4 separate regions of the Homo sapiens genome follow, and all the other regions are linked to region 1. The links are contacts of gene promoters, found by promoter capture Hi-C in blood cells and fetal thymus (Javierre and others, 2016). All regions are on one chromosome and are shown on one strand. The core of a region is centred on a gene start or on the middle of the fragment in contact, and the rest is flanking DNA. Distances in the headings are between cores, read along the strand shown. Region 1 holds the start of SHISA9 (shisa family member 9). Region 2 has its middle 56 kb from the start of ERCC4. Region 3 has its middle 460 kb from the start of ERCC4. Region 4 overlaps SNX29 (sorting nexin 29).

Region 1 (7,824 bases), core at 3,503-6,002:
CCACATGTTCCATACAGGGGCAGATTCCCAAAAAGTACCCACCTATGGTAGTGACTGTATTTACTGACTTGATGTGTTCGGAGGAAATCGACTTTTTTTCTTTGCAGAGCAAAATGAACCCGGATGATTCTTTTCTCCTTTTAATATTTTTCAAAGGCTCAGGAAACAGGCTGGGGCAATTTTCCAGGGAGTAGCGCTTCACCTCCCGCCCACCCCAACACAGAATTATCCACTCCAAAATGTCTATAGTGCTGAGATTGAGAAACCCTGGATTGAGGGAAAACCAAAGCCTGTGCTTCCTAAACTTCAGTTTTTAGTACCAGACACTTCACATTGTTTTCTTTATTTTTATTTCTTTATTTGTAAATACTATAATGTCTTTTTTCCATAATTGACTTTACATTGATAGACTTAAAATTATTAACTATACACCTTAAACATTTATTCCAGTGAATCCATGTTTGATGCATTATTATTTTCTTTCGAATACACATTGAAATATCTGTAAAACCATTGATATAAAAAAGATCTTTGTTGGGGTACCACCAAAAATCATCTTCCCTACCACCACCAGTCCCGGGGAACCAAACTTCATACCTAGTTCACTTTTTTTTTTGAGATGGAGTATCCTTCTGTTGCCCAGGCTGGAGTGCAGGGGTGTGATCTTGGCTCGCTGCAACCTCTGCCTCCCAGGTTCAAGGAATTCTTCTTCCTCAGCCTCTCTAATAGCTGGGATTACAGGCATGCACCACCACGCCTGGCTAACTTTTGTATTTTTAGTAGAGATGGGGTTTCACAATATTGGCCAGGCTGGTCTTGAACTCCTGACCTCATGATCCGCCCACCTCAGCCTCCCAAAGTGTTGGGATTACAGGTGTGAGCCACCGCATCTGGCTCAGACCTAGCTCACTTCTCTAAGGCTTCCCTCATCTCTTCAGGAGAGAATCAAATACATCAAATCAGCTTATTGCTTGAAACTGGCAAGGTGCTAGCTACATTTCACTTATGTTTTTTTCTCTTTTTTTTTTTTTCTCCTCAAGGCTAACAGCTGCTTAAAAACCTCTTTGAAACCCTAAAAGCCACTTGAGGAGGACAATTAACAAACCACTCATTTTGGTGAGGGCCAGAGCACATATAATTCAATTTGTTGAGTTGCTTATGAACAGTGGTTGCAATGTCCTGGTAACCAAACATCCTTTGTTATTAAGACATGGTTCCCTTCTCTAATTGTTAGGGAGTACAATTGCATTCTTTTTGCTGTGTGTACTGCAGTCTGACATAATTAAGGCTAGAGCAAATGAGATTCTTCTTTAGATATTAAAAGTGCCTGTGTTGTAAATAATAATGTCACCCTCTCTTTCATAGAAAGCACTTTCATTAAGAGCTGCATTTTAATATCAATGCGTTTGCATGAATTCATTTGGGTCATGGTGGGGGGACATTGCTGATGATTTTTAATCTTCCATGAGCTCACCAGGTGTTCCAATTAGGTCATTTATAATGCCTACCCCTCCCTGCCAGGAGCCCTGAAATAAATACTTTCTCACTCACATTTTCCATACAGGTGTTTGTTCCCAGTAAGTACCCACCCATGGTAGTAACTGTATTTACTGACTTGATATGCTCAGAGGAAATTGACTTTTTTCTTTGCAGAGTAAAATGAACCCAGAGGATTCTTCTCTCTTTTTAATATTTTTCAAAGGCTTGGGAAACAGGCTGGGGCAATATACCAGGGAGTGGTGGCCACTACAGCAGACAGGAACAGGAAGGGAATCTGGTTTGGGGAAAGCTCATGATGGGATAGGAGTTTTAAGGTTTAGAATCATTGGCACATAAGCCACACAGGGTGGCTTTCTGCTTCCTTCCCCAGCACAAGCTCTGCGCTCTTCTTGACACAAACAGGGGGCAGTCTCTGTTAATTAAAGCGAGGAGCAGCAGTCACAGTGAGCCTCCTCTGAGGACCGGAGTCAAATGTCCAGGTGACATGCAATATTTTACAGAGATTGGAAGCAGATTCTGAAATGGACTTTTCTGTCCAGATTTTGTCTCTTTTCTCTGAAGTATTTTTTTAATCAAATTTACAAGTACCTTAAAACTCCCAACCCTTGCAGAAAGAACCCTGTGACCTACTGTTCTCCCATGTCCCTGGTTAAACTCTGCCCTAATACCTGCTGAAGTGGAGTCGGACACAGAGTGGAGGAAGAGGCCGGGGTTAGGAGTTGGGCGTCTAAATCCAGCCCTGGTGGGGTCATTGCTGTCCATGTGATCTCCCACAAAGGTCTTAACCTCTGAGCCACAGCTTCCTGGAACATAGGAAGCCCGCTGGAGGGTCCCTTTCCATTTCCAATGTAGTATATAGAAAACTCCCACCCTTTATATACATAATGACAGCAGATACTCCATCATCCATGCCCTAAGTGTTCCTTTCCTCTTTTGGTTTAAGACAGAGTCTTGCATAAATTAATTAATACAACCCATGCATTTTTTTGAGTGTTTACCATGCTTAGAACTGTACCCCGGGGCTGCACCCTGCAGCCCCGCACAACCCCAAAGGCTCAAATCCCTGGAGTTGCGCACAGGGCTGGAGGGCGCAGCCATGGACCCGCAAGGCAGCTCCGTATGCCTGGGTTCTAGGGGCTGGGGACATGGTATGGGAGTCGAGGCCCTCTCCATTACACAGTTCACATCTCAGTGCAGGCAAACAGACGAAAACGCAAATACATAATATAGTAGGAGGTAGACAGAAAGTTTGGAGGCCTATTTCATGTAGTGGCTGGAGGGCAGTTTCTGGACTCAAATTTCTTGGGTCAAATGTCAATTCTGGCACTCATTTGGCAGAGCTACTTGGGCAACTGGTTTAACTGCTTTGGGGCTCATTCTCTCCCTCTGTTGTGTGGGCCTGGTACTATTACCTAAGGGAGAGAGAGTTACATGAAACCAGTCACTCGGTGGTTCAGCAAATATTTCCAGACTGTCTGCTATACGCTGGGCACTGCTCTAAGCTTTCTTGAGGAGCTGCTTTTAGAAAAAGCAAGCTTAGTGAGTATGTTGCAGGCACTGAATAAATGTCAGCTCTCATTAGCTCTCACACACCAGTGCTTGTGTTTGTAGGACTCACAAGGTGGTGGTGGGCGTGGGTTGCCAGTCATGACAGACTTTCCATACTCTCCTATTTTGGGGATTCTATTATAATGAATCTGGTGAATCTGGATTAAACGTGTTCATACCTTCCCCAGATGGGTTTGGAATATAATACTCCTGGGTATGCCCTGTCAATGTCTTGCTGTGTGTTTGCAAATCTTTTTTGAAACATCAAAATGTGACTTTTTTTTTCAAAGAGAAGGGGCGATTAGCCAAACTTCTCATTTGGAGAAAACTTGCAACAGAGTCCCAATAAATCCTCCCACCCTTTCTCAATTCAGGGGACCCTAGTAAACCATTTTACATGTCGCCCAACTTTTCGTTCTCTGAAGATGCCCTGAGAAGCCCTTGACTGCAGCCAAGTGGAGAGGAGGGTTGTGGAAACATTATCTCCTTGCAAATCGCCTAGCAGCCTGCAAAGTGTATACTTAGTTAATGCAATTAAAAAACAAAACGCCGGGGCGTGGGGAGATCTAAATTTGGTGTAGCAGCTTTGGTGCAAATCCTGTTTTGGGGCTACTGGAGTCAAATTCAAGCAGAGGAGAGAAAGAGGTGGGAGAAATGAGAGAGGGCCTCCGGGGAGCTGGAATTCGCTAGGAGAGAGAGGGCAGATTTGGAAACACAGAGGAGACGGGAGGCTGGAAGCTGAGGAAGCAAGGCAGAGCTCTGCAGCCCCCGGTGAGGATTTCCGGGGGGATCCGTGGGGACAGGGGCCAGCCAGCTCCAGAGACCGATGCGCGGGCTCCAGGTCCGGGAGGGTGGCTGAGGCTGGGTGCCCAGGCCTTGCGCTGCGCCAGATCCGGGAGCGCAGAGGCGGCGCCGCGGTGTTCCCTCCTGTGGAGCGCAGAAAACGCTGCGGGGGCGAAGAGGGACAGAAAGCGGCAGGTTCGAGAGGCTGGGGGACTTCCAAGGAAAGACCTTCCAGGACACGCCATAGCCTCGGCCTTGTTCGGCTGTCCCCTCTTACCCCCGACCTTCTTTGATTCGTTCATCCCGAGCCCCTCTCCCCCGGAGGGTGCTTATCCCTGGCTCAGGGGCTTGCCACCTGTCCTTCCCAGCTCCGCCTGGGTCCTTGCTTGGGCCCAGAGAGTTGAGCCATGCGGGTTGCGCTCAGGGCTGGAGGGCGCAGCCGGGAAGGGCAAGGAGGCCCCGCACGCCTGGGAGGGGCGATCCTGACCAGACTGCACCCAGTCTGTCTTGGAGTGAAAGCCATTTAGTCTGTCCCCATCCTCTCCGAGTCATCCTTCCCCTGATGCACAGATTTCGGCCGCCGCTCCTGCACACGCACCGGTGAAAAAGCTACGAGCTGAGCCGCCTCTGCGCTCTGGACAGGGCTGAGCCGCGCCTCCTACCCAGAGAGGGCGCGGGAGGTCCTGCCGCGGTTTTCCACCTGCCTGGAAATCCGAGCGGCTCCTCTAGCCTCGGCTGCTGCCGAGCTCGCTCCTCCCCGTCCGCTCGCCTGGCTCAGCTCTGCACGCCCCCCAGCTAGCTCCCGCTCTAGTCACCTCTTCCCCGCGCCCCCGCCCCTCTAGAGCTCGCGCCCGCCCCCCCCCACCCGCGCCTCCTCTGCCCGCCCTCCTCCCCCTCCCCCTTCCCTCCTGCCCTCCCTTCATTCCACAAGTGTCGCTTCGCTCTCTTCAGCGCACTTGGCGAGCTGGTGAGGTGAGAGGGATACTGCGAGAGGGCTAGGGGCGGCCAGTCCGGGGCTGCCGGCCAAGGCTAGGCGCTGCCAGCCCGATTCTCCTCTGCTCTCCACCCCCGCCTCACCCAGTGGCCGGCCGGACCTGCACCCCGCGCTTGACCCCGCTCATCCTCCCCCCGCCCGGCCGGGCGCGCTCCTCCCCGGCCGGCCCCTCGGCGCGCGGCGCGCTGGAGGCGAACGCGGGCTGAGGCGAACGCGGGCTGAGCCGAGCGCAGTGGCCGCCGACCACCGAGCGCCCCGCGCCGCTCCCTGCATGTGCGGCCCGCGGCGGCTCGCAGCTCCCGGCAGCAGCCTCGGCAGCTTCGGCCGCGCCTCGAGAGGCGGCCGCAGAGGCTCCAGCGGCGGCCGAGCGGCCGAGCCCGGGCTGGGAGACACCATGCGCCGCGTCCTTCGGCTGCTCCTCGGTTGCTTCCTCACCGAGCTGTGCGCCCGCGTGTGCCGGGCGCAGGAGCGAGCGGGACACGGGCAGCTGGCGCAACTGGGCGGCGTGTTGCTGCTGGCGGGGGGCAACCGCTCCGGGGCCGCCTCCGGAGAGGCCAGCGAGGGCGCTGAGGCATCGGACGCGCCCCCGACCCGGGCGCCCACGCCGGACTTCTGCCGGGGCTACTTCGATGTCATGGGCCAGTGGGACCCGCCGTTCAACTGCAGCTCGGGCGACTTCATCTTCTGCTGCGGGACTTGTGGCTTCCGGTTCTGCTGCACGTTTAAGAAGCGGCGACTGAACCAAAGCACCTGCACCAACTACGACACGCCGCTCTGGCTCAACACCGGCAAGCCCCCCGCCCGCAAGGACGACCCCTTGCACGACCCCACCAAGGACAAGACCAACCTGATCGTCTACATCATCTGCGGGGTGGTGGCCGTCATGGTGCTCGTGGGCATCTTCACCAAGCTGGGGCTGGAGAAAGCGCACCGGCCCCAAAGGGAGCACATGTCCAGGTGGGCTGCCTCCCCTTCGCCCTCCCCTCGGGGCTTCGCTCTCCCTGCTCTCTCCTCCCCACCTTCCCCCAGGCAATGGCGCTCCCCACGGTCCCCGCTCCCCGCATCCCAGCCTCTCCGCTGGGGGATGTCACCGGGAAGCCAACTTCGGCTTGGAACACGGAGAAGGGGCGCTGGGCTCAGCACAGGTGTGGGTCTGAGCGTGTTCGTGTGTGTGTGAGCGTGTGTGTGTGTGTGTGTGACTCTGCTCCCTCACCCTCTGGCCGCCTCCTCCCGCTGGTGACTGAGGCGGACTTGAGACACGTAGCCTGGGAGCCCGTGGCCCCGAAATCTTCGGGTTTGGGGAGAGGGTCCATGGCACCCCTCGGATTCCAGGTGCTAGCTTTTTGGTAAACAGGGGCAGGCGAGCCCGAAAGGGGAGGGGGGCGTGTGTGAGCCCGAGCGCGCGTGTGTGAAGGAGGGAGGGTCAGAGTGAGTGCCGCCTGCAACTCGTACGACTCGCGAAAAGGAGACGAGGGAGGTGGAGTGAGGGGAGGGCGAGAACAAAAGCCTTGCTTGGAGCGGCCGCCTCGCTTTCCCAGAGCTTCGCCGTCCCTGGATTTGGGACCTCAGCTGCCCCCGCCCCTTTACCCACCTCATCCCTTTCTCTGGCCACCACTTCTCCCTGCCCGGGGCCGTGGCCATCGCTGCAGATTGAGCCCCTTGCCCTGGCTGGCGTGGACTCCGGGGGCCCGAGCCCCCTCCTCGCGCGCCCTCACTTCCAAGCACCCTGATTTCGTCAACTTTCGGGTTTGCCTTGTTCATTATGCAAGCCCCAGCACCAGCTAGTTCCAGCAGATGGGAGAAGGCTTTGGGGGATTAATGGAGCTATTTGCCTTTTGCTTTTTTTAAATTTTTTTTATTTTAAGTGTCTAAATCGATTCGCAAACTCCGTAACTTTGGAGGCGGAGGACGCAGCCACTAGGAGCACTAAGCCCCCGGCCGCGGGAGAGGCTGGGGGTTGGCGTGAGGTCCGGGCGGGCGGGGTGGAAGGAGTGACTAGCGGCCTGCGAACAGCTGGATGGTTGGGGCATAAGCTTTAACTGTCCCCTTTCAGAGTCTGGGCAACGAAGTCGCTGTATTTTTCTCTACCCTCTCCCCACCCCTTCTTCCGCGCCCCCTCTGCCGGGGGCCTGTGTGTGTGCGCGCGTGTGTGCACGCGCTCCGTGTGATGCCTAAAAAATCTGAACAAAGAGACCCACCAAAAATAGGCAAAGGAACATCACCACCTCACTAGTAATTATTTTCTATTTATACGCAGAGTATCCGATGAGATTTTTTTTTTTCCCCCAGAGAGAAGAGATTTTGGGGGAAGAGGTGAGGAAGTTCTCGGTTTGGGTCAGCAGGGAGCTGTGGGTGGATGGTGGGGTCTTGCTGCACAGAAGTAAGCTCCGAGGGGCTTCAAAGAAACCCTGACCTACTAAAGGAGTAAAGCTCTGGCCCCGCCCACCTTCCGCAACCACAGGGTGGCCTGTCCCCAGCCCCACCGGCCAGGCCAGTCCCTGTTAATTCCCCGGGTCTGTGTTAAGATGAGGGGAGAAGTGGTCTCAGGACTGAGGCAGCGGGTGTCGCCTTGGTAGGGAAAGATTGACTCCGAGACAGGTAGGCTGCCTTGCAGATTTGGTTAACTACTGCTGAAATCTCCATCAAGCCCTGCCCTCGCGAACCAGCTCTTAAAAGAGTCCTCCTTGATGGTTGGCCTGACGGGAGGTGAGCAGGTGGGGAGAGGAGCTAACCTTTGGGCATCTGTGGGAGAAAGTGATGCTAGATCAGCCCTCTTTGATCTGGGCGTTCTGGTGACAGCTCTCTACCGGTTACCCAAGGGCCCAACTTCCTGGTCCTGCCCCCGTGCAGCTCTGCTGGGGGAAAAATGAACACAGCTGAGCGGGTTGCAGCTACTTTCTTCTGCAGGTATAGGGAGGGTCGGCCTGGTGGCAGAATCTAGGGGACCCAGTCCTAGGGTACCAGAGCCTCAACACAGGTCCTCCCAGTATACATTTTTG
Region 2 (7,824 bases), core at 2,715-5,214, 960 kb after region 1:
CTAATCCCAGCACTTTGGGAGGCTGAGGCAGACAAATCACCTGAGGTCAGGATTTCAAGATCAGCCTGGCCAACATGGTGAAACCCCATCTCTACTAGAAATAAAAAATTAGCCGGGCATGGTGACAGGCACCTGTAATCCCAGCTACTTGGGAGGCTGAGGCAGGAGAATCGCTGGAACCTGGGAGGTGGAGTGCAAGATCACACCATTGCACTCCAGCCTGGACAACAAGAGTGAAACTCTGTCTCAAAAAAAAAAAAAATGAAAATAAAATAAACACCAAGTTTAAACATCTAACCAGAAACAGTATCCCACAATTGCCTGATTTTGTCCTCATTTTTTAGCTGATTGAAGTCAATTACTCTCAACCATGGGTTGTGAGTTGTTTTGGCTCCCAAGGGACATTTGGCAATGTCTCAAGACAGTTTTTGATTGTCACATTGCGGTGGGGAGACCTCAATGCATGGGACGGCATTGATTTACCACAAACAATTATCTGATCCCCAGATGTCAATAGTGCCAAGATTGGCAAACCCTCATGTATGTCATTTAGAACCACGTCTAGAAGCTGACCCTAAAACAGGGTAAATATCCGCAGTCAGGTCAGAGGCCGAGCCACATAATAGACAACTTCAACATCACTGGCAATCAAGCAAATTAAAATGAAGGCCCACTTTCAGCATGTTGCAGTAATGAAGATGTTTGAGATATGCTGGCTAGGGTACAGGAAGACCAACATGAGCCATGATGCTAGCCCATTGCTAGAGAACGTATAATTGGTCTGACTTTTCCAGAAAATAACTGAGCAATAGATAGCAAGCTCTTTACAATGCTCATACCCTTTGACCAAGTAATACCACTGCTAGCAATACACCCTAAAGAAAAAATCAAGGAAGCAAAAACTCAAAGCAACCTAAATGCCCAACAGTGAGGGAGCGACAACAAACTAAAATACGGAGCAAGGCATTTTAAATAAAATTTACAAATTTTTAATGACACAAGGAGGTACTTACAACACCATGCTCAGAGAAAAGAGCAGAAATAAATTAAGTATTCAAATATTCATCCATAAAAAATGAAATTGTGTCTTTTGCAGCAACATGGATGGAGCTGGAGGCTATTATCTTAAGCAAAATGGCTCAGACACAGACAGATACTGCATGTTCTCACTTATAAGTGGGAGCTAAATAACGTGTACACATGGATGCAGAGTGTGGAATGATAGACAACAAAGACTCAGCAGGGTGGGGGGAATGATGAGAAATTATTTAATGGGTACAATGTACATTATTCAGGTGATGGATACCCTAAAAGTTCTGACTTCACCATTACACAACCTATGCATGCAACGAAATTATACTTGTACTTCATAAGTTTATATAAATACAAATAATAAATATGATAAATAAGCATTTTAAAAATAATTAAGTGTTCTTCATGATCTCGACTATGTAAAAACTAATAAAATGTGTTCTGTGGAATCATATAAAAATTCTTTGGCCACCTTTAAACTTTGCCAAACTTTTAAATATTTTTATTTGACTAAAATAGTCCATATGAGTTAATATTTTCAGTCACAAATTGTAAAACACCCAACTCAAACTTCCGTTGCCATGATGGGAATTTGTTGACTTATGTAATGGAAAAGTCAAAAAGTAGGTTGAGTTACAGTCAAAGCATAATCCAGACACAACAATACAGTCACCAAGGACCTGGTTTCTATCTGTCTCAGGGCTCTGCCTTCCAGAAGTTGGCTTCATCCTCTGACTCCAAGCAGTGATCCTTGATCATCCCTCCCACACCACTCCACACACACACACACACACACACACACAAACACACAGACACATGCTCTCTGTCTCATGATAGCTAAACAACAGAAGCTATTCCACATCTCACATTCTCATTCTCAAACGCATCTTACAAAATAAAGAAAGAGTCTTCTGACAACTTGAGCACAAGTCTGAAAATTCACTTTTCCCATTGGCCTGAATTATATAATGTGCCCATCCCTGACCCAGTCACTGTGGCCAATGGTGCACAACTTGCTAATTGCCTTGCACCACCCACTGTAGCAAGAATGTCAACTCCATCCAAATCATGTGGCTGAAAATGGCTGTATTAATCCATTCTCACATGGCTATAAAGAATACCACCGAGACTGGGTAATTTATGAAGGAAAGAGATTTAATGGACTCACAGTTCTGCATGGTGAGGAGGCCTCAAGAAACTTACAATCACGGCAAAAGACAAAGCAGGCACATCTTACATGGCAGCAGGCGAGAGAGAGAATGTGCAGGAAGTGGAGAGGGAAGAGCCCCTTATAAAACCATCAGATCTGATGAGAACTTATTCACTATCACAAGAACAGTATGGGGGAATCCACCCCTATAACCCAATCACCTCCAACTGGGTCCCTCCCTTGACATATGGGGATTATAGGGATTACAATTCTAGAGGAGATTTGGATTGCAACACAGCCAAACCACATCAATGGCAGAGGGTGAATTCCACTAAGCAAAGTCAAGGTCCTTTCTGTTGTGGCGCAAAGTGGATGCTGGAGAGTCCTCCAGTAAATGTCCCTAGGACGTGTCTTGCTAGGGAGGAGCTATCTAGCCATGGACTACATTTCCCAGCCTATCTTGTGTTTAGGTTGGACACAGGACTAGTTCTCGCTAGTAGAATGAAAATGAAAGTGGAATTAGAGTACTCTGAGGCCCTAGAGGAGAGAGGAACAGAAGATAGAAGGAGGCTTCCTCCCCGTTTCACTGCACAGAAAGCTACCTGCCCATTGGAAATATCCACATTAAACCTATTTGAATAAGCCATTGATATTTATGGGGGTTTTTTTGTTATAGCAGCTAACATCACCCTAATACATACCTTACAAGTGTATATTACTTTTACATAAACATAATAATAATTGTGGTGGTTAAATTTATGTGTCATCTTCAGTGAGCCATGAGATGGCCAGATTAAACATTGTTTCTGGGGGTGTCTGTGATTGCTTCTGGATGGGACTGGCATTTGAATCAGTGAGCTCAGTAAGGTAGATTTCCCTCCCCAAAGTGGTTGAGCATCATTCAATCCACTGACGACCTGAGTAGAACAAAAGGCAGGGGAAGCAGGAATTTGCCCTTTTTTTCCCTGCCTCACTGTTTGAGCTGGGACATCTCATTTCATCTCTTCCTCCCGTTAGATTGGGATTTATTCCATCAGCTCCTCTGGTTCTCAGGCTTCAAACTCAGACTGAATTGCACCACTGGTTTCCCTGAGCCTCCAGCTTGCAGAAAATAGGTTGTGGGACCTCCCTACCTCCATAATAGCATAAACCAATTCCTCCTTATTTATACTAACCAATGGTAGATACTATTGGTTCTATTGCTTCTATTTCTCTGGAGAACCCTGACTAATACAATAATAATTTTTTTAAATGGGTCATGTTTCAGGGGAAAAAGTCATAAGTTTGTTGTCCCTAATTTGTGTATGCATGATAGGAAGACATAAAAGAAGTCATAATTAATAGGCAAGCTAAAATAAAGCCAAGAAGCTTTGAATAGAGCCTGGTATTAAATATACCACTTGTACAAGCTTACGGGAGAGGAGATTTCAAATGCTCCTGTCAGAAGTTTCTCAGATCAAAGAACTTGATTGACATCTAGAAGATTAAAGGCTATCTGATCCACAGATAAAACAATCAATCTCCTAGGCTAGAGATTTATATAAAAACAATTATGCCTCCATTTTTTTAATGGCTGTATTCCTGGAAGAGCCACTTATTCCTTTTCTTTTACCTTGTATTCAATAACTATTGAGTGTTATTGAATGTGCCGTGTTTGGTTGAGTGCAAAAGATCCAATGAGAATGAGTTCTAGTTCTTTCAAAGAATTTATAGGCTTGGGACTTGGGTGGACTAATACACAGGAAATTATCAAAAGGGAAAGAGAGAGAAGTGCTATGATTGGCTGATTTAAAAACCCATAGAAAGGACACTCAACCTACTCTTGATGGCATAGCAGATACAATCTTGATGGTATAGCAGATTAACAAGACTAATCTTGTTCATCCTCACCAAATATTCTATATTGCCCCCTATATTTTCCACCTTTCTCTGCAGTTACAATGGAGTCATGTGACTAATTCTGACCAAGAGACCGTGAGCAGAAGTAACACATGTCACTTCCTGGTCAAAGTCATTAGGAGCTGTTCTGCTTCCTCTTCCTCTCTCCCCTCTTCTCTCTTCAGAGAGCTTGAAGTCCACGTGTTTCAGATGCCCCAACAGCAGCATGGCGGTATAGGGCTGCTCAACCTACATGGCACTTTATGTGAGTGAGAAATAAGCTTTATTGTGTTTAACTTTTGGGATTTCAGGTTTGGCCCGTCATGCAACTGGTGTAATTATCCTGATACAAGAGGTCAGAGAATGCTTCCTGAAAAGGAGAACTGAAAGGGTAGAAGCTTAAATGAAATTAGGCAGGCAGAGATATGGCTGCAAAGAGTAGTCCGTGAAGAGGAAACAGTGTCTGCCAAGCTTTGAAGACGGTTGCTTGTAAATAGAGTTTGGGTTTAAAGGGGTCCTTTTTATTATTATTATTAATTTCCCTTGGATATTTACAACTTTACTCATATCCATTTCTTCATATTCAATGGCAGGAATTTCTAGCTTTTAATTGAAGCTTCTCAGCTTATTGTTCCCCATCTTCTCCTTCTAGCAGCTAATGACCAGTAAATAAATCCACAAGGGCCCAGCCTAGCTGCTGTTTAAACAAACATTTTATTTAAACACTCTGCAAAGAAGTCCTGCACTCCAGCCTAGGCGACAGAGTGAGACTCTGTCTCAAAAAAAAAAAAACAAAACAAAGGTGTTAGAGTGTTCATTGGAACATGTTTTCTAATAGCAAAACACAGGGGAAAAGCATGAATGCTCATCATGGGGGTGAGTGGTTAAACAAAATGTGGTTCAGTCATACAATAGTGAGAATTACACACAGTGCTTACAAATAATGAACCAGGTCTCTCTTATCACATGGAGCAATCTCAAAAACATTGAGTGAGAAAAACAAGTTGTAGAATCACACACACACACACACACACACACGCATACACATACAAAATGATACCATTCACAAAATTATTAAAATCCATTAAACTGTATATTGTTGATGTATTAGCCACAAGTTTAAAAACATAGGTCAGGAGCATTTACACCATCTTCATGAAAGTGATTGCTTCTTATGAATGAAGAAAGGAACAGAGTGGAAGCGGCTGTCCTACTTTGGGCTCTTCTGAAAACAGAGCCTGAAACAAGGAGTCTGATGCAAGTAGTTTATTGGGGTGGCAATTGCAGGAAGATAGTAAGGATGCAGGGAAAGAGAGACGGGAAGGGGAGTAAGTCAATAAAGTGTGTATTAATCTAGGGCAATTGGGACTCAATCTCAGCAGGAACCTCCTGAATAGCCATGCCTCAGAATCAATCCACTAAGGGACAAGGCAGCTGGGATAATTATTTTCCAACTCCCTTCTCTCATTGATCGAGGATTGACCTTGGGGCATTGCGCCTCCAGTCCTTTGGGATTGCCCTGTGGACGGGCTAAGCAAGCTCTCTCGCCACTAGAGGGAACCCTGGGGCAGAGAAACGTGTGCTCCAGGGCGTAAGCAGTCAGCGTGCCTGGAAACCATCCACCATAGCTGCAAGAGGCCTAAAGAGATTGGCCAAGGGATGTGGCATGGGATACTAATCATATCTGCTACATGGGAAAAACTGTATCAGCAATGTTTTGCTTTATTTTTAAGAAACATCTGAAGTAAATAAAATAAAATGTTAATATTTGTCAATTCTACCCAGTGGTTGCATGGGTGGCTGCTATATTATTCTCTGTTCCTTTTTGCATTTTGTCTTTAAATTTTACAAATTACATTCACAATGTTGTAAAACCACCGCCACTGTTTTGCTTTATTTTTAAGAAACATCTGAAGTAAATAAAATAAAATTGTTAATATTTGTCAATTCTACCCAGTGGTTGCATGGGTGACTGCTATATTATTCTCTGTTCCTTTTTGTATTTTTTGTTTAAATTTTACTAATTACATTCACAGTGTTGTAAAACCATCACCACTGTCTATTTCCAAAATTTCACCACCCTAAAGAGAGAGCAATAAGCAATAACTCCTTATGCTCCTCTCCCTTGGCCTTTGGTAACTTCTAATCTACCTTCTGTCTCTATAAATTTCCCTATTCTAGATATTTCATACAAGTAGAATCACACAATATTTGTCCTTTTTGTTGGCCTATATCACTTAGCATAATGCTTTCAAAGTCAATCCATGTTGTAACATGTATCAGAACTTTCTTTCTTTTTATGGCTGAATAATACCCCAGCGTGTGTGTGTGTGTGTGTGTGTGTGTGTGTGTGTGTACCACATTTTGTTTATTTATTCATCTGTTGATGAACTCTTGGGTTGTTTTCACCTTTTGGCTATTGTGAATAATGCTACAATAAACATTGCCATGGAAGTAACTATTGGAGTCCGTGTTTCCAATTTTTTGTTGTATACCTAGGAACAGAATTGCTAGGTCATATGGTAACTCTATGTTTCATTTTTTGAGGAACCACTATACTCCTTTCCATAGCATCTAAACCGTCCTACATTCCAACCAGCGCTTCATAAGGGTTCCAATTTCTCCCCATCCTCGCTAACACTATCTTCTCTTTGTTGTTGTTGTTGTTATAGCCATCCTAGTAGGTATGAAGGGATATTTCACTGTGGTTTTGGGTTGCATGTCCTTAATGATGATATTGAACACCTTTTCATCTACTTATTGGCCATTTATGTATCTTCCTTGGAGAAATGCCTATTCAAGCTTTCTGTATTCTTAAACCTTTTCAAAATAAAAATGTAAGGTCCTATAGCATGCAGTGGAGCCTACTATTTGAAAACAACTTCTGCTTTTTCTAGTGAAGTTACTTTCTTGATTTTTCTAACAATCAAAATTTTTCTCTACTTTGTCTCTCAGCAGATTTCAGTTTCAACTGCATCATCCATTCCATCAATCAGCAAGTTTGCTAAGAGAGCTTTCGTGAAGCTACTTTGCAACATCTAAGTGACAAGCAAATCCAACTTTAGGCAAAGGTCCAATAAGTCACACTCCAGGAGATAGCAACAAAAGTAAAATCAAGTAGTGATGACTTGTCAACCTATCCTTTATTCTGGACTAAAGGGATGTGGGCTTTTTCTTTTGGTTTTAAGTAGGAAAATGATCTCTTCCCATCTCCTAATCACAGAACAAGAAACGAAGGGAAGGAAGATTAAAAAGGGTAGGGTAGTCCCTCCAAAAATACACAAAAGCATCAATTGTAGTTTACATCAAAATTCAAGTCCCATGAAGTTTATCAAAGTTTGTAGTATAACTGTATCTCTCTACTAGAGTTTGAACCAAGCATTTTTTCTCTTTGCTGGCATGTCTATTGTTCCAAGTTCTATGGGAATAATGGGGTTTATTTAATATTTTCCACATCTTCCCTACTTGTCAGTTATTTCTCTCCCCCTTCCTCAAACCCCTGAGAAACTCCCAAACACTTTCTATATTGTATTCACGAGGAGGCAACACTGTGGGACTGGGTTTGGGCATGGAGTGTAGCCTGCAGACTATCAAGGGTTGGAGTCTTGGCTTTGTCATTTAATATCGTTGTTGTTGATGCTGCTGTTGGTGCTAACTTCTCTAAACTTCAGTTTCCTTTTAAAGTCTGTTTTAAAAAGGAAAACTATTACTACAAATAACCAAAATATCAATTTTATCTAGTTTGAACAATAAAGACAATTTAA
Region 3 (7,824 bases), core at 3,817-6,316, 560 kb after region 1:
TCCAAAGCTGGGGATACTCCATGCTTATCATCACATGTTGATGCCAGGAAAGTAACACCATCCATGACTCCATGGGGAAAGGATAACACAAAACTTCAGGTTTGGAACTTTTCCGGGACTCTGCCCACAGGCCTATTCCCTTGGCTAATGTTAATCTGTATTCTTTCTCTGTAATAAACTGTAACTGTAACAGCTTTTGGTGGCCAGGCACAGTGGCTCACGCCCATAATCCCAGCACTTTGGGAGGCCAAGGCGGGCGGATCACCTGAAGTCAGGAGTTTGAGACCAGCCTGACCAATGTGGAGAAACCCTGTCTCTACTAAAAATACAAAATTAGCCAGGTGTGGTGGCACATGCCTGTAAACTCAGCTACTCAGGAGGCTGAGGCAGGAAAGTCGTTTGAACCCGGGAGGCAGAGGTTGCAGTGAGCCAAGATCGCACCATTGCACTCCAGCCTGGGCAACAAGAGTGAAACTCTATCAAAAACAAACAAACAAACAGCTTTTGGTGAGTTCTGTGAGTCCTAGGTAATTATCAAAACTCAGGGTGCTTTTGCTCCCCTCTCTTGAACTTCCAGTTCAGAAGTGAGAGTAGTCTTGCCTGGACTGTGTTCCCTCTAACTGTACAGTCATCAGACTCTCACAGCCACATGTCTGCCCCATAGCACCACCTATATAGGAAAATCCCACACACACTTGCAGCTCACAGCCTAAGTTTTGAATGACTCCCTTTAGGCTGATTCTTTATGCAGACGCCAGCTTTGTGTAGCCTTTGACCATTCCACCTTCTGCTTGTTCTCTGTTGTTCTTTCTGTATTACCTAGAGCCATTTTACCATCCGTAAGATTAATCCCACTTGCATTGAGTTTCTTTGCACTGGCTACTCAGCCACCAACAAACACAGTCCCCAGAACTTTCTGTTGCCACCCTTTATGCTTAGGAGTGTCCTCAAACAGGAACTGAAGGCTCAGGTAATTTACGTGAGAAACAAGAAGAAAATTAAATGAATAATCACATATGAGAAATAGTAAATATGGCTAGGACCTCTCTAGGCAAGACCTTAAAAATAATTCTTCCAAAGTAAAATATTTTTCCTTCCTTCCTCCCTTCCTTCCTTCCTTGCTTCCTTCCTTCCTTCCTTTCTTCCTCCCTTCCTTCCTTCCTTTCTTCCTTCCTTCTTCAATTATCTCAATGACAATGTCTGACATGGACTAGAAACTCTGTAAATATTTGCAGTATTGTTCAATGAGTGGATGAACCTATATTGAGCACCTACCATATTGTATACACCATGCTAGGCATTTGGGAAACAGTGAAGGATAACATAGACATTCCAAGTGCGATGTACCAGTCAACCTATCAAACCAAGCAGTATCTGGAGGAAACACAAAGGAGAATAAGAATAACCTCTTATGGACACTGACTGTCATGGGTCACCTTCCTCTTTCAACAAATGTGGCTCTCAGGGGATCATGGGAGATCATAAAAATTATTGAGACTCCACAGGATGAGTCTCGTGATCACTGATTTGGACCAGTGTCTGTATCAGCAAATGGAAGCAAACTTTATGATGCTGTAACGATGGGAGCAGGGTCAAGCATTACTGAAAACCTTCAGTCTCAGATAAAGCGGAGGGAAGGGGAAATTACTCATTTACAGCTAGAAATTGGTAATCTAGAAAAAACTCGATCAACAATGGCTGAAGAACTAGTAAAATTAACAAATCAAAATGATGAACTTGAACAGAAGGTGAAAGAGATACCCAGACTTAGAATCCAGCTAAGAGATTTGGATCAAAGATACAACACTATTATGCAGATGTATGGAGAAAAAGCAGAAGAGGCAGAATAACCTTGATTAGATCTTGAGGATGTAAAAAAAAAATTTATAAAACTCAAATAGATGAACATTTAAGACAGAGGCTCAGTTAACTTGTGAAAATTGAATTCTCGTCAAACTGAATGTAAACATTTAATATCTGAATATTTATTGTGGACTTCCAATAAATTCTCGGGTTTTTTTGTTTTGTTTTGTTTTGTTTTTTGTTTTTTGTTTTTTTTTTAAGACGGAGTTTCGCTCTTGTTTCCCAGGCTGGAGTGCAATGGCGTGATCTCGGCTCACTGCAACCTGCGCTTCTCAGGTTCCAGAGATTCTCCTGCCTCGGCCTCCCAAGGCATGCACCACCACGCCTGGCTAATTTTTGTAATTTTAGCAGAGATGGGGTTTCTCCATGTTGGGTCAAGCTGGTCTCGAACTGCTGACCTCAGGTGAGCCACCCACCTCGGCCTCCCAGAGTGCTGGGATTACAGATGTGAGCCACTGTGCCAGGCCAAATGCTTCTATAGAATGAGAAAAAAATTATTGAAACTCCAAATGAAGATTCCTAGATATTTGTAGGATGTGCCCGTACCTTACAAGTCACGTGCAGCCCTGGTGTAGCCTTGACTTAGTGACAGAGGATTTTGACAAAAACTTTATAAAGCAAACATTCACTCTTCCTCTGGTGACATGGGGGGAGGAGGGTGGTATAGAGATCTCTCAATACCACCTTCCTCCCCTCAAGTCATCATGCACAGGACAAGGGTAGAAGGATACAAAGGGAGTGGTATCAGTAGAAGCAAGATACAGTACTGAATAACTTTTATCTTTTGCCTGGAATGTTCTAGCCTATTTATTTTTAATGCTCTTATTTTTCAGGGGGACCTTATCACCTTTGTTATTCCAAATCAGCCTTAGTCAAATTATTGGGCACTCTAGGACCCACCTCAAAAACAGATATCACTGAAGATTTTTTATCAGATGGGTAAAGTATGCATATCACAGAGAGGGAACTGTGCATTTCTGTTCACCTTTTCCAGCCTGGCTCTTGCTAACAGGAGGCTGTAATTGACCCTGTATATCATGCCTGGAGACCTTAATGGAAGTGTTGTAACACAATTAACTTAGAAGCAAAGGACAAAAGGAAAGGCATCATGCCGTTATCTGGCCATTAGAAGCTACTCTGCCTTGAGATAAGGGGTATGGGAAAAGAAACAAGTGTGTATGAGTCCTGAGATATTTTTATAGTCAGCATCAAGCTTTATATGATTATGAATATTTTTTTAACAGGGACACTCACACTGTCGCCTAGGCTAGAGTGCAGTGGCATGATCTCTGCTCACTACAAACTCTGCCTCCCAGGCTCAAGTGATCCTCCCACCTGAGCCTCCCAAAGTGCTGGGATTACAGACACGAGCCACCACACGCAGCCTATATGGTTATTAGTATTATCCCTAAACATATCCATTTGCATATTCAATGGACAGTGATTGAGTGTCTACTGCATACCCATCAATCCTGGATTCATGGCAAATACCAGAAGAACAAATATCATCCCTGTCCTCTGGGAGATGGGGGTCTATATGATATACAAACAGAACACACACATGCAACCTCAAAATGAGGCTGCTCCATGAACACCTCATGGAGAAGAATGGTATCATCAGGGTCACATCATAATGATATCAAGACTCATTATATATCAGTCATTTACTGTGTGCTGGAAACTTTATGCTCATTTCTCTAATCCTCACAACAAGCCCCCCCGATCCATCATATTAGCTCCACTTTACAGAGGAGGAACCCCAAGATCAGAAGTTATGTGAGTTGACAAATGTCCCACAGTTGGTAAATGCCAGAATCAGGCCTGGCACTCAAGAATGTGTAATTCCTCCAAAGCCCATGAGTTTTCTAGTAGTTTGTGTTTTTAGGGACAACCACAGTGCCTGTCACATATGGATGGATAGGTTCGAGTAGAACTTGTTTGATGCTTAAAAGGATATGATAGAGCTTATCAGTTGGATATCTTAGAACAAGGGTGCTCATGAGGATCCATGGGTCTAACTCTAAAGCAGCCCAAGGTTAGTGAGATTCATATTATGGGCAGAATCTGCCTTCCTTCTCTCTGGTGTGACTTGTCCTAGGTCGACTACAGCTGGTCTGGATTTGTAATGATGCAGAATACTACGGTTAGGTCTTGTGGCAAATCCTGCCCCACATTCAGAGAAACTGGACTTGCCTTCCAGAGTCATCACCTTCTGCCAACCAGCCGCTCAGTATGGCATGAGCACACCCATCCTTGTCCTTCATCGCTCCTTGTTAAAACCACTTTCAGCTTTCTACTTGTGTCTTTTGCTGTCTCAGGCAGTAATCCATTTCTCAACATGTCATTTATCCAATAGACAACATATCAACGAGACAGTTTTGATTTGCTCAAACATCTTTGGCAAATGAAGGTGGCACCCTTGCAGAGATGGCAATAATATTAATAGAAACTCAAGCCTGCAGTTCTGACAGCTCTCCCAACCTGTGCACACTTGCCTCTCTTGGGCAACTCTTAGTGTCCTCAAAGACTGGCTGAGGCACTGTCCTGGTGGCTGAACCCAAGACACCTAGCCCTTCAGGTTTAGTGGTTCTCTAAAGAGTTATAGACTTACAGCCAAGCGCAGTGGCTAACACCTGTAATCCCAGCACTTTGGGAGGCCAAGGCGGGTGGATCACCTGAGCTCAGGAGTTCCAGACCAGCCTGATCAACATGATGAAACTCTGTCTCTGCTAAAAATACAAAATTAGCCGGACGTGGTGGCACAAGCCTGTAAACCCAGCTACTCGTGAGGCTGAGGCTGGGGAATCGCCTGACCCCTGGAGGCAGAAGTTGTAGCGAGCCGAGACTGTGCCATTGCACTCCAGCCTGGGCAACAAGAGCAAAACTCCCTCTCAAAAAAAAAAAAGATTTATAGACTTTCTTTTTTTTTTTTTTTAATTTTTTTTTTTTTTTTGAGACCCTCTGTCACCCAGGCTAGAGTGCAGTGGCATGATCTCGGCTCACTGCAAGCTCCGCCTCCCAGGTTCACGCCATTCTCCTGCCTCAGCCTCTCGAGTAGCTGGGACCACAGGCGCCCGCCACCACGCCCAGCTAATTTTTTGTATTTTTAGTAGAGACGGGGTTTCACCGTGTTAGCCAGGATGGTCTCGATCTCCTGACCTCGTGATCCGCCCACCTCGGCCTCCCAAAGTGCTGGGATTACAGGCGTGAGCCACCGTGCCCGGCCTAGACTTACTTTCTTAAGGAAGTATTCACCCAGGAAGTATTCACCCATTCAATAAAGAAGAATTGTTGCATACCTAGTATTTTCCAGTCTTATTAATCTATTCATGTAGCACTTTGGGAGGCTGAGGCAGGAGGATCACTTGAGGACAGGAGTTCAAGACCAGGCTGAGCAACATAGTGAGACCCACATCTCTGCTTAAAGAAAAAAAAATAGCTGGGTATGGTGGCATCCACCTGTAGTCCCAGCTACTCAAGAGCCTGAGGTGGGAGGATTATTCGAGCCCAGGAGTTCAAGATGAGCCTGGGCAACATGGTGAGACCCCTACCTCTACCAAAAAAAAAAATTCTTTAAAAATAAATAAATAGAGTCAAACCACTTATTTAATCTCATTCAGGTTGGAGAAGGAAGAAAAAGTAATTCAGACAAAAGAAACAGCATGTATAAAGGTAAAAAAAGTTCAGGAAACTAACAGATCACTCAATACAGAGGCCTGAAGAAAACAGGTGTGAGAGATGAGGGTGAAGGATTAGGTGAGGCCTAGATTTCAGAGGATATTATGTCTCGTTAATGAGCTTAATTTCATTCTATTGTTCTGGGACCATCTAAGGTACAGGCAAAACTGCAATGTAGGCTGGGTGCTGTGGCTCACACCTGTAATCCCAGCACTTTGGGAGGCAGAGGCAGGCAGATGGCTTTGAGGTCACGAGTTCGAAACCAGCCTGGCCAACATGGTAAAACCCTGTCTGTACTAAAAATATAAAAAAGTTGGGCAGGCACAGTGGCTCACACGTGTAATCGTAGCAGTTTAGGAGGCCGAGGCGGGGGGATCACCTGAAGTCAGAAGTTCGAGACCAGCCTGGCCAACATGGTGAAACCGCGTCTCTACTAAAAACACAAAAATTAGCCAGGCGTGGTGGCGGGCGCCAGTAATCCTAGCTACTCAGGAGGCCGAGGCAGGAGAATCACTTGAACCCGGGAGGCAGAGGTTGCAGGGAGCCGAGATCGCACCATTGCACTCCAGCCTGAGCGACAGAGGGAGACTCCATCTTAAAAAATAAATAAATAAATAAATAAAAAATAAAAATACAAAAAAGTTAGCTGGGTGTGGTGGCACATGCCTGTGGTCCCAGCTACCAGGGAGGCTGAGGTGGGAGGATCACTTGAGCCTGGGGGGGGAAGGTTGCAGTGAGCTGTGATAGTGCCATTGCACTCTGTTTTGTCTGGGTGACAGAGTGAGACCCTGTCTCAAAAAACAAACAAAAAACCCTGCAGTGTAGAAAGTTCACTATAGCTTTCATGTGAAGGATAGATTGGGAAGAAAGAGCATGGCATGACCCGTGAGGAAGCTATTGCAATAGTTCAATCCTGAGGAAAGTGAGGATGGGAACTAAGTAGCAGGTGTGGAGAGAGAGAGGACCATGTGGGCAGGAGAGGCAGCGTGCAGGTGGAATCAGCAGTACTTGGAGAAAGAGTTCTTGAAAGTTGTGGAACACAGAGAGGAGTCTGGAAAGATTCCTGGGACTGTTGTGGCTGGAGGGCTTCACCTACTCTGAAGAGTTGCTCGGGAGCTCTGTTGCCTTCTCAGTTGCAGAAATGAAGGAATTAAACGTCACCTATTGAGAGTGATAATCTTGATCTTGGCTTGGTGCTTCTGGTAGCCAAGGTCTAAAAGAAGGAAAAAATAGCATTTGTAAGTCATGAATAGGTACAAACCAGGAAGCTCTGTTGCCTTAAAGAAAGAGCTTCCTTAGCAGATTCTTTATTTCATCATTTCCAGTTTGGCAGCGCCCTCATGGTTGTGGCTGGGACAGGACTGCTGGCTGCTCAGGAAATATCGAGCAAATGGGCTAATCAGCAGGCAAAGAATTGATTCCCGTGTCACATCCCTTCCCCTTAGGCCACAAGTCTACAAAATTGCCAAGTGGCAGAGGCTTCTGAATCCCTGCCGTTGGCTCCCTGGAATTGCAGAAGCTTGTTAATATTGACTTTCATCTAATTGCTTCACTATTTAGTTGGCAGGATTGTTCTTTAAAAATTTTTTCCTAGTTACGTTATGCCCAAAGGCAATGCTAATTAACAGAAAGATCCAGGTTCTCTCAGACTCAAACTGCATCCTCTTTTCTCCTCATTCCACTACTTGTCTGTCATGAGAATTACACAGAAGTTTCATCTCTTAAGCTTTCCATGCCTCAGTTACCTTATCTTTAAAATGGGCATAATTAGATTAACTCTGTGACTTTCTTTATAGAGTAATTGTGAGGATTGGAGGAAGCTTTCCAGGTAAGTGTGCTACCTAGCACTTAGGGTTTAATTAAGGGTAGCTCTAAAGAATAATCACCTCATCTGCAGGGAGATGTTGCCAAGGCCTCCCTGACCTGTTGGAGGAGTTTGAGAATCACACTTGGTCGATGCCACCATTCTTTCACTGGCCTGTCTTACCATGGGTTTCTCATGGATGGCTGCTAAGCTTTGTGCAAAATCAGTCCAAAACTTACAATCCTGAAGCCCCAAAACTGGTGCTATTTCCTCCAACTCTGGTTCTCCCTATCAGCCTAAGTGCTCAGATGCTTTGAATGTGTATTTTGATTTTGCAACTTGAGTCTGAACTAGAGTTTCTTGTCTAAAGCTAAAGCCCCTTTCTTGGAATTTCATGTCAATTTTGTTTTGGTTCAAGCTGAAATTGCCTCCCTCTTTCCCAAAACCACTGATTTGCTTTCCCTGATTAGAGCAACCGG
Region 4 (7,824 bases), core at 3,535-6,034, 570 kb before region 1:
CACAGCCCTATGCAATAAACAGGAGTGTGTATTACCTTCGTGTCTATCCATGCCAGCTGCTAAGCATGTTTTTCTGCTATGCGTTGGCTCACAGTTCACTGGCAACGAGTCCTCTGCTTCAGATCACTCAGGTGGGATTGAGGTGTTGGCACACATGCCAAGTGGCCCTTCTCTTTTCAGCTTCTGTTGAATGACTTGACTTGTATTTTTCAGACCTGTTCTTTGAATAGCACAAAGATCACTGTTCCTCTTTGACAAGAGCTGTTTTTTTCTGAAGGGACTAAGACGCGTTAACAGTTATTTATACCCTGTCTTGTTCCAAAAGGCATTTGAGTGGCATATCTTACAGATAGGTGCAGGAGCTTGGGCTGTTGCGTCTGAGACACTATCCTGATGGGCACACTCCTCAACATCTCTGAACCTCATTTTCCCTGTCTGTGAAATGGGGATAATGAAGACCCATTGCAGAATGTTGTTTTGAGAATTAAATAATTTACAGCTTAAGTATTAGTCACTTTTGTTGTTGTTGCGGGAGGCTCAGGATCAGTGATGTGAAACAGTTGGCCTGGTGCCTGGGACAGAGATGTGCTCAGGAAATGGTGGTCCCCTTGTGGCCTTGAGTAAACGACTTAACCTCTCTGTGCCTGTTTCCTCACCTGGCGACCAGCCTGACCAACATGGCGAAACCCCATTTCCAGTAAAAATAGAGAAATTAGCCAAGCATGGTGGCGGACGCCTCTAATCCCAGCTACTCGGGAGGCTGAGGCAGGAGAATCGCATGAACCCAGGAGGCAGAGGTTGCAGTGAGCTGAGATCACACCACGGCACTCCAGCCTGAAATGGGCTTGACGGTCATAAGTAATGATAGTTAACACTCACGCAATGCATCTGTGAGCCACGCTTTCACTGCGAACTGTTTAATCCTCCCGACAGCTCTGGACGACAGGTGGTCACCATTGTCACCTTTTTACAGAATATGGAAACTGAGTCCCAGTGGGTTGAAATAGTAGCCTGAGGTGACATCTTTGCAGGCAGCGGAGCCAGGCGGCTGGACCCCAGAGCCCTGGTTCTTAACCAGCACGCGAGTCCTGGCGGCGCTTGTGGCAGGTTTCAGGGCTGAGGGTGGCATCCTTGCTCCCAGAAAATCACTTCAGATATTTTTAGGCCTGGATTCTATTTGGTCACTCAGCAGCCCAGTGTAGGTCTGGCGGATGGAGGAGTTTGGGTGCAGCTTCACGTTCAGATGGAAAAGCTGGTCTTCCCTGCACTTGCCTGCAAAGGCTCCTGGGGCAGAGCCCTGACACAGAATGTGGTTGGCCACTCCAGGCATGCTAGCCCCCTGGCTTATAGGCTGCAGAAGGCTTCCTTGACTGTTGTCCACACACTGGGAGCAATTCAGTTTCTCATCTTCTTTGGGCCTCTGTAGCCAACTACAGTTCCTTGCTTCAGAGCCTGTGTCTGTGTTTGGAAGGGGGCTGTGGATTGCACCCCATGGGCTCCTACCTTGAATCCTCTGCTGGTATGAGCTTGGCAGGCCTGACTGGCCCTTCTCCAGAGAGAGCTTTGGCCTCAGCTGCTGAGCCCAACTTTCCAGGCTGCTGGGCTTGGCTGCCCGGTTTCACTCCTAGAAACTCCTACACAGAGATCATGAGATTTACAGGACAGAGCCTTCTCTACGTGCTCCAAGTGGGTCCCTTGGTCATGCATTTCTTGGGCCTAGCTTGGTACCAGAAAAAGACACAGAAGCTGTCTAAACTTTGATTTAATTTTTATTCATTTTTACCTGGTCTTATTCCAAAAAGCATTTGAAGCAGCATAGCGTACGTATAGGTGCTGAGAGCATGAGGTGTTGTATCTGACACACTGTGTCATTGTGGGCATGTTCCTTAATGTCTCTGAGCCTCAGTTTCCCCACCTGTGAAATGAGAACACAGAAGACCTGTTCCAGAATTTTTTTGTTTTTGAGATGAAGTCTCACTCTGTTGCCCAGGCTGGAGTGCAGTGGCAGCGATCTTGGCTCACTGCAGCCTCTGCCTCCTGGGTTCATGCAAATCTCCTGCCTCAGTCTCTGAAGTAGCTGGGACTACAGGCGCCCGCCTCCACACCTGGCTAACTTTTGTATTTTTAGTAGAGATGTCGTTTCACCATGTTGGCCAGGCTGGTCTTGAACTCCTGACCTCAGGTGATCTGCCTGCCTCAGCCTCCCAATGTGCTGGGATTACAAGTGTGAGCCACCATGCCTGGCCAGAATATTGTTTTAAGAATTAAACAATTTGGCCAAGCACAGTGAATGCCCCAGGAACCTTAGCAGGCAAGTGGTGGCGCACGCCTGTAGTCCCAGCTACTTGGGAGGCTGACACAGGAGGATCGCTTGAACCTAGTAGGTGGAGCCTGCAGTGAGCCAAGATCATGCCACTGCACTGGAGCCTGGGTGACAGAGCGAAACTCCATCTCAAAAAAATAATAATAATAAAGAAATAATTTACAATGTGAGCATTACTTACTTTTGCTGTTACTGATGCTGTTATTAACATTATTACTATTATCCTCATCCTAGAAGAAAATTGATGGTCAGGGAAAATGAACTTTCACCTGACTCAGAGCCAGGTGTGCGTGCGGTGTGTGCACTTGCGTCCTTGTGTGTGTTTGTGTGTGTGTGCACGGGCATATGCATGCACAAGTGCGTGTCTTCAGCTCGTTGCCAAATGGTTGCATCTGGCTTTCCCCTGCATGAAGCTCCGTCATTTTCCATAGTTTCTGAGCAAATTAACTTTGGCATCTAGCTGGGTTGCTCATTTGCTAGTCGTGCCTGTTAGGAAAGGCTTGTTAAAGCTGTGTTATTGGTGGCGTTTTAAAAATGTGTTACTCTCTTTGTGCGCCTTTTGCCTGTTAAAGTGATGACTCTATCCTCCCCCGTCCTCGTCATATTGAAGGCCATGATCACAAAGCTTGAGGAAGACCCAGTGCTGCATGGTGGAGTGGTTGTGAGCTCCCCCGAGGTCCATGGGCAGGTGCTTTTGACGCTCAAGAACCCCGTCCTTAGGCCCACCTTCCAGGTCCACCTGCATCCCAGCCCCTGGCCGCCACCAGGGTTGGGCACCTCTGTCTTTCTCTTATCCTCCCAGCCTGATCTCTAGCACTTCCCCATTCCTGCCCTTGGTTCTTCTGGCCTCTGGTCTCCTCGTCAGTCCTCACGGTCCTGTCTGCTCCTCTTTCATTTCGTCTTGGCTGCTGTTGCCCGCCTGCTTCGTCACTCCATGTGCCCTCGTCCTTCAAGCCTCACCTCCAAGCTCACTTCTCTCCTGGGCCCGCTTTGAGACCCTCATGGCCACCCCTGCTCGTGCGGTTAGTGTGCATGTACAGACGCTCCGCAGGCAGTATTTCAGAGGGGAGGAAATGGAAGAAGGGAGGAAAGAATGAAGGGAATGGAGTATTTAGCATCCTGGATATTTAGCAGTGTGCATTTGTTCATTCACAAATGTTTTGCAGGCAATCAGTTAATTTTTTTTTTTTTTTTTGAGGCAGAGTCTTGTTCTGTTGTCCAGGCTGGAGTGCAGTGGTGCGATCTTGGCTCACTGCAACTTCCGCCTACCAAGTTCAAGTGATTGTCCTGCCTCAGCCTCCCAAGTAACTGGGACTACAGGTGCGTGCCACCATGCCCGGCTAATTTTTGTGTATTTTAGTAGAGATGGGATTTCACCATATTGGTCAGGCTCGTCTTGAACTCCTGACCTCGTGATCTGCCTGCCTCGGCCTCCCAAAGTGTTGGGATTACAGACGTGAGCCACCGCACCTGGCCGCAATCAGTTAATTTTTACAACTCTTAGGATGTTGGTAGAGTTTTCCCTGTTTGAGAGAGAAGAAAGCTGAAGCTCAGAGATTAAGTAATTTGATCAATTACATCTGATCAATGATCAGTATGGGTGTGCTGAATTCAGTGTACCTTTGTTCATTCAACAACATTTATCAAGCACCTGTGATGGGCCTGGTGCTGTCTAGGTGTTGGGCTTGTAGCTGTGATGAAGAGGGTGTGATTTCCTCTTCCCCAGGGCTCCCAGTCCGGACTCTCTAATCTTTTCATGGCTCCTGATAAGAATTTCTTCCCAAGCAGGTGAGAAGGTCTTATTACTTCAGCCATTATCTGTATCTCTCACAGAGCCTATGTCCTGGGGACTGGGCAGGAAGGAGGGTCCTACCCTGTAGGATGGCTGAGGTAGAAAAGGCCATGTTTAGCCAGGTCCATTCCAGTTATTCTCAGAGACCCGAATGGAGAATGACAGGTGTGGCTGCCAGGCAGATGCATCCCGCGTTTCCGTGCCCTGCATTTATCTTTGCCATCTCACTGAAATGAATGTAACCTCATGGGGATGTTCCTTGTCTTCCCCTGTGGCTGATGGGTGTGTTTGTTAAATATCTGGGATGTTTAATTTTTAGACGGCCTTGTAGGGAAGCGAAAACATGGCTCATCCCTTTCAGCTAGACGTAGGGAAACACTTCAAAGACACTGTCACCTCTGAAGCCATCCACTTTAGGTCTTTGAGGTTTTGAGTAAAGACAAGTGCAGCAAAATGACAAATGTTGGTTTAAAAACCTAAGCAGTCTGGAGATCTTTGGGATGGCATGTTTTGAAACAAAGCACACCGCCAAGGAACTCGCTTAGCTTGGGGCAACTTTCACAGCAACTGTTTGTTGGTGGGTCCTTTGGTAGAGAAACATGAGAGACTTTGAGGTCTGGGGCTTCGCTTTTGTGAAGCTCTGTCTTCCTGTGTAGGTGAGTCCCACCTTGGGGAAAAAAATCATCCCCGGGTGCATTCGAATGTTCTTTTGTGTTCGGCACCGTGCAAACCACTTTGCATGAATGATTTCACTTAATCTTGATGCATAAAACAGGGACACAGGGATGCTATTCTGATGACAAAGTATCCTTCCCCGCAAACATTATGGGACCCCTTTAAATCAAAGATAAGAATCTGGCATCCTGGGCTGCATATAGCCCATAGATCTGTTTGATTTGGCTAATTCGGTTTTTAGGATTGAATTTATTGACAATGCTGAACATTCGGGCCATTTCCCATAAAGCTCACTATTTCCAATTTCCCTTGAGAAAATGGAAAGCTCCCACATAGGTGGGTGTGTTCACTTGGGGCTCAGTAGTGGTGGCCCTGTTTTCAAGAGGGCAGTCCTCACCATGTCACCCCATCCCCACCTAGCCTGCTTCTCTCAATTATTTTACCTGCCTGGTCCCTATAGGCATTTGTGTCAGCCCCTTTTGCTTTAAGTTATCAGCCCCAGAGCCTTTTTTTTTTTTTTTTTTTTAAAAAGCAACAGTCTTTCAAATTTGATGTCATACACAAACCTTTGGGCCTGTCATCGACTGAGCATTCCGTCAGCGAATATGCGTCAGAAAACAAACCCTGCCAAGATGCATGTGAGGGGAGGTTGACTGTCGCTTCACTACCGTTCCTGTGGGAAATGACATCATCTGCAGCAGGGGAGCAGGACACTTAGCAGCACTTCCCAGAGTGGTGTCCCAGGACAGAGGGGCTGCAATCTCCAGGAAGGTGGATCATCATCTCGCTATTGTCTTAAATGTCTGAGTTATAGATCTTTGAGGGCCTTGAACTCCAGGACAGCAGGGAGGTAGGGGGAGGAGTCATCCAGACTTGGAAAAGATTCTTTAATTTTACTTGAAGTGAAACTCTTGCTGCTGGGAGTATAAGAATTCATTTCATCAAGCAAAAAAAGCTCAAATCAGTGATGTTTAGTGGTGACTATAAGGCCAGGTGCAGTGGCTCACACCTGTAATCCCAGCACTTTGAGAGGCCAAGATGGAAGGATCTCTTCAGGTCAAGAGTTCAAGACCAGCCTGGGCAACATAGGGAGGACCCCTCCCACCCCATCTCTACAAAACATTAAAAAAATTAGCTGGGCATGGTTGCATGTGCCTGTATTCCCAGCTACTCAGGAGGCTGAGGTGGGAGGATCTCTTGAGCCTAGGCATTTGAGGCTGCAGTGAGCTACGATGGTGCTGCTGCACTCCAGACGGGGTGACGGAGTGAGACCGTGTCAGCGTTGGGGGTTTGGGGGAAGCTGGTGGTCATGATGAGAGCAGCCAATGCTCTTTGCATTTCTTTATGTGCTAGACAGTGTGTTAAGTGCCTTCCCCAGATTATTTCAGTGAATTTTTCACAATAACTCAGTGAACTGGGTACCATAGTTATCCTTCCCGTTTACTAATGAGGACGCCAAGGCCCAGGCAGGATCACCACATGCTCAAGCTCATGTGGCTCATCACTGGCAGGATCAGGATTTGAACCCAGGCAGTTGGACTCCACCTCCACCGCTACCCTCTCCTGCTTCCTGTGGGTCAAGGCACATCCGGGAAGACAGTCTGTCTGGGTCTGTGTTTGTGACAACGGCCCAGCACTTGATATCTTTATGAAACCCTTATTAAATCAAAGAAGAAGAACCAGCTGGCATTTTGGGACATAGAGAAATATAATATTTACATTTTAAATAAATTAGGCCATCACCACAGACCCAGAGACATTGATTATTCTCAGAGTAGCTAACAGGAGGTTGAAATGGCTTCATATTGCGGGTCTTCCAGCCTGTAGGGAGAAAGCTTTGGTTTGGCGCTCACTGTAACACAGTTAAAGCCAAGGTATTCAGAATAGACTCTCTGCTCAGCATCCTGCGTTGACACAGAAGCCGTAAATAAATTTGATGGCAGAGCAGTTCTTGGCAAGAATTTAACAACAAATCTTGACATGAAACTGTGTCCCTGCTGCCCTGTGTCTGTCACCGTGTTGTTGAGATTGGCCTGGACGTGTTGGCACGTTTCACTGGATGGTTTGTGTTGCAGTCATGCCCATAGCTTAAAATTTTTTCCCCTCAGAGAAAAGATATTGGAATACTGTGTTTTCTCTTTACTCAGGGTTTGCATTTGGAGTGGTGAAATTTGCACTTCATTGTATATTCTGAAGGGTTGGCAAGTGACAAGTCACCTGTCCTTCCATTTTAGAGATGGAACATCAAGGTATGAGAGAACTCTGTTGGCTGAGTACAGTAGCTCATGCTTGTAATCCCAGCACTTTGGGAGGCCGAAGCAGGAGGATCGCTTGAGTCCAGGAGTTGGAGACCATACTGGCCAACATGGTGAAACTCCGTCTCTACTAAAATTGAAAAAAATTAGCCAGGTGTGGTGATGTGTACCTGTAATCCCAGCTACGCAGAAGGCTAATATGGGAGGATCACTTGAGTCCAGGAAGTTGTGGCTGCAGTGAGCTATGATGGTGCCACCATACTCCAGCTTGGGCAACAAAGTAAGACCCTGTCTCAAAAACAAACAAACAAACAAAAAACAGACACCACAAGAAGCCTTGGAAGGCAGAGGGACTGGGCATCATTGAGCACCAGAGTTGGCCAGGCCTGGGAGATGTTTTCTCAGTTTGATCTTAACCATCTTGGGCAGCAGGTAGTGCTAAACTCTTTTACAGACAAGGAACTGAGTTTGCATAAAGCATGTCACCTTCTGAAGGCCACCCAGCTGGCAGGTGATGGGGCTGGGAGGCAGCAGTAGGTTTGTCTTCCCTCCAGAGGTTCCTTTTATGTCACACTGTCTCCACAGTTGCTGGAGATAGGTATATTAATTTTTTTTTTTTACTTAGCTATATTGAGGTATAAATGGTAACGGGAAATTATGTGGATTTAAGGTATGCAATGCGATGGGTGTTTTGTTGTTGTTGTTGTTCAAGACAGGGTCTTGCTGTGCTACCCAGGCTGGAGTGCAGTGGTGCGATCTCGGTTCACCACAGCCTCGAC

Evidence for each region. Contacts are between HindIII fragments. The CHiCAGO score rates a contact against its expected background, and 5 or more counts as called.
Region 2: a fragment that was not itself captured here is called in contact with the fragment with the promoter of SHISA9 in region 1 in 1 of 17 cell types (endothelial precursors); the score reaches 5.1 in endothelial precursors.
Region 3: a contact is called between a fragment that was not itself captured here and the fragment with the promoter of SHISA9 in region 1, in 3 of 17 cell types (M1 macrophages, M2 macrophages and M0 macrophages). The highest score is 7.1, in M1 macrophages.
Region 4: a contact is called between a fragment that was not itself captured here and the fragment with the promoter of SHISA9 in region 1, in 1 of 17 cell types (neutrophils). The highest score is 5.7, in neutrophils.

The regions. Positions count from the first base shown.
Region 1 is chr16:12,896,846-12,904,669 of GRCh38, forward strand. SHISA9 (shisa family member 9) reads left to right here and starts at 4,753. Exons shown (of 5, transcript NM_001145204.3): 1 at 4,753-5,782. The coding sequence starts at 5,220. The HindIII fragment of the contact is 3,823 bases long and covers 3,034-6,856 here.
Region 2 is chr16:13,860,704-13,868,527 of GRCh38, forward strand. No RefSeq gene overlaps it. Among named protein-coding and RNA genes, the nearest start is that of ERCC4, 56 kb to the right of the region's middle. RefSeq lists an enhancer at 5,389-5,683. The HindIII fragment of the contact is 750 bases long and covers 3,590-4,339 here.
Region 3 is chr16:13,456,824-13,464,647 of GRCh38, forward strand. It overlaps a transcript of SHISA9 not described here and the pseudogene TMF1P1. Among named protein-coding and RNA genes, the nearest start is that of ERCC4, 460 kb to the right of the region's middle. RefSeq lists an enhancer at 2,696-3,197. The HindIII fragment of the contact is 3,984 bases long and covers 3,075-7,058 here.
Region 4 is chr16:12,329,606-12,337,429 of GRCh38, forward strand. All of the region lies in intron 15 of SNX29 (sorting nexin 29), which reads left to right. Among named protein-coding and RNA genes, the nearest start is that of SNX29-AS2, 39 kb to the right of the region's middle. RefSeq lists an enhancer at 2,642-3,142. The HindIII fragment of the contact is 3,677 bases long and covers 2,947-6,623 here.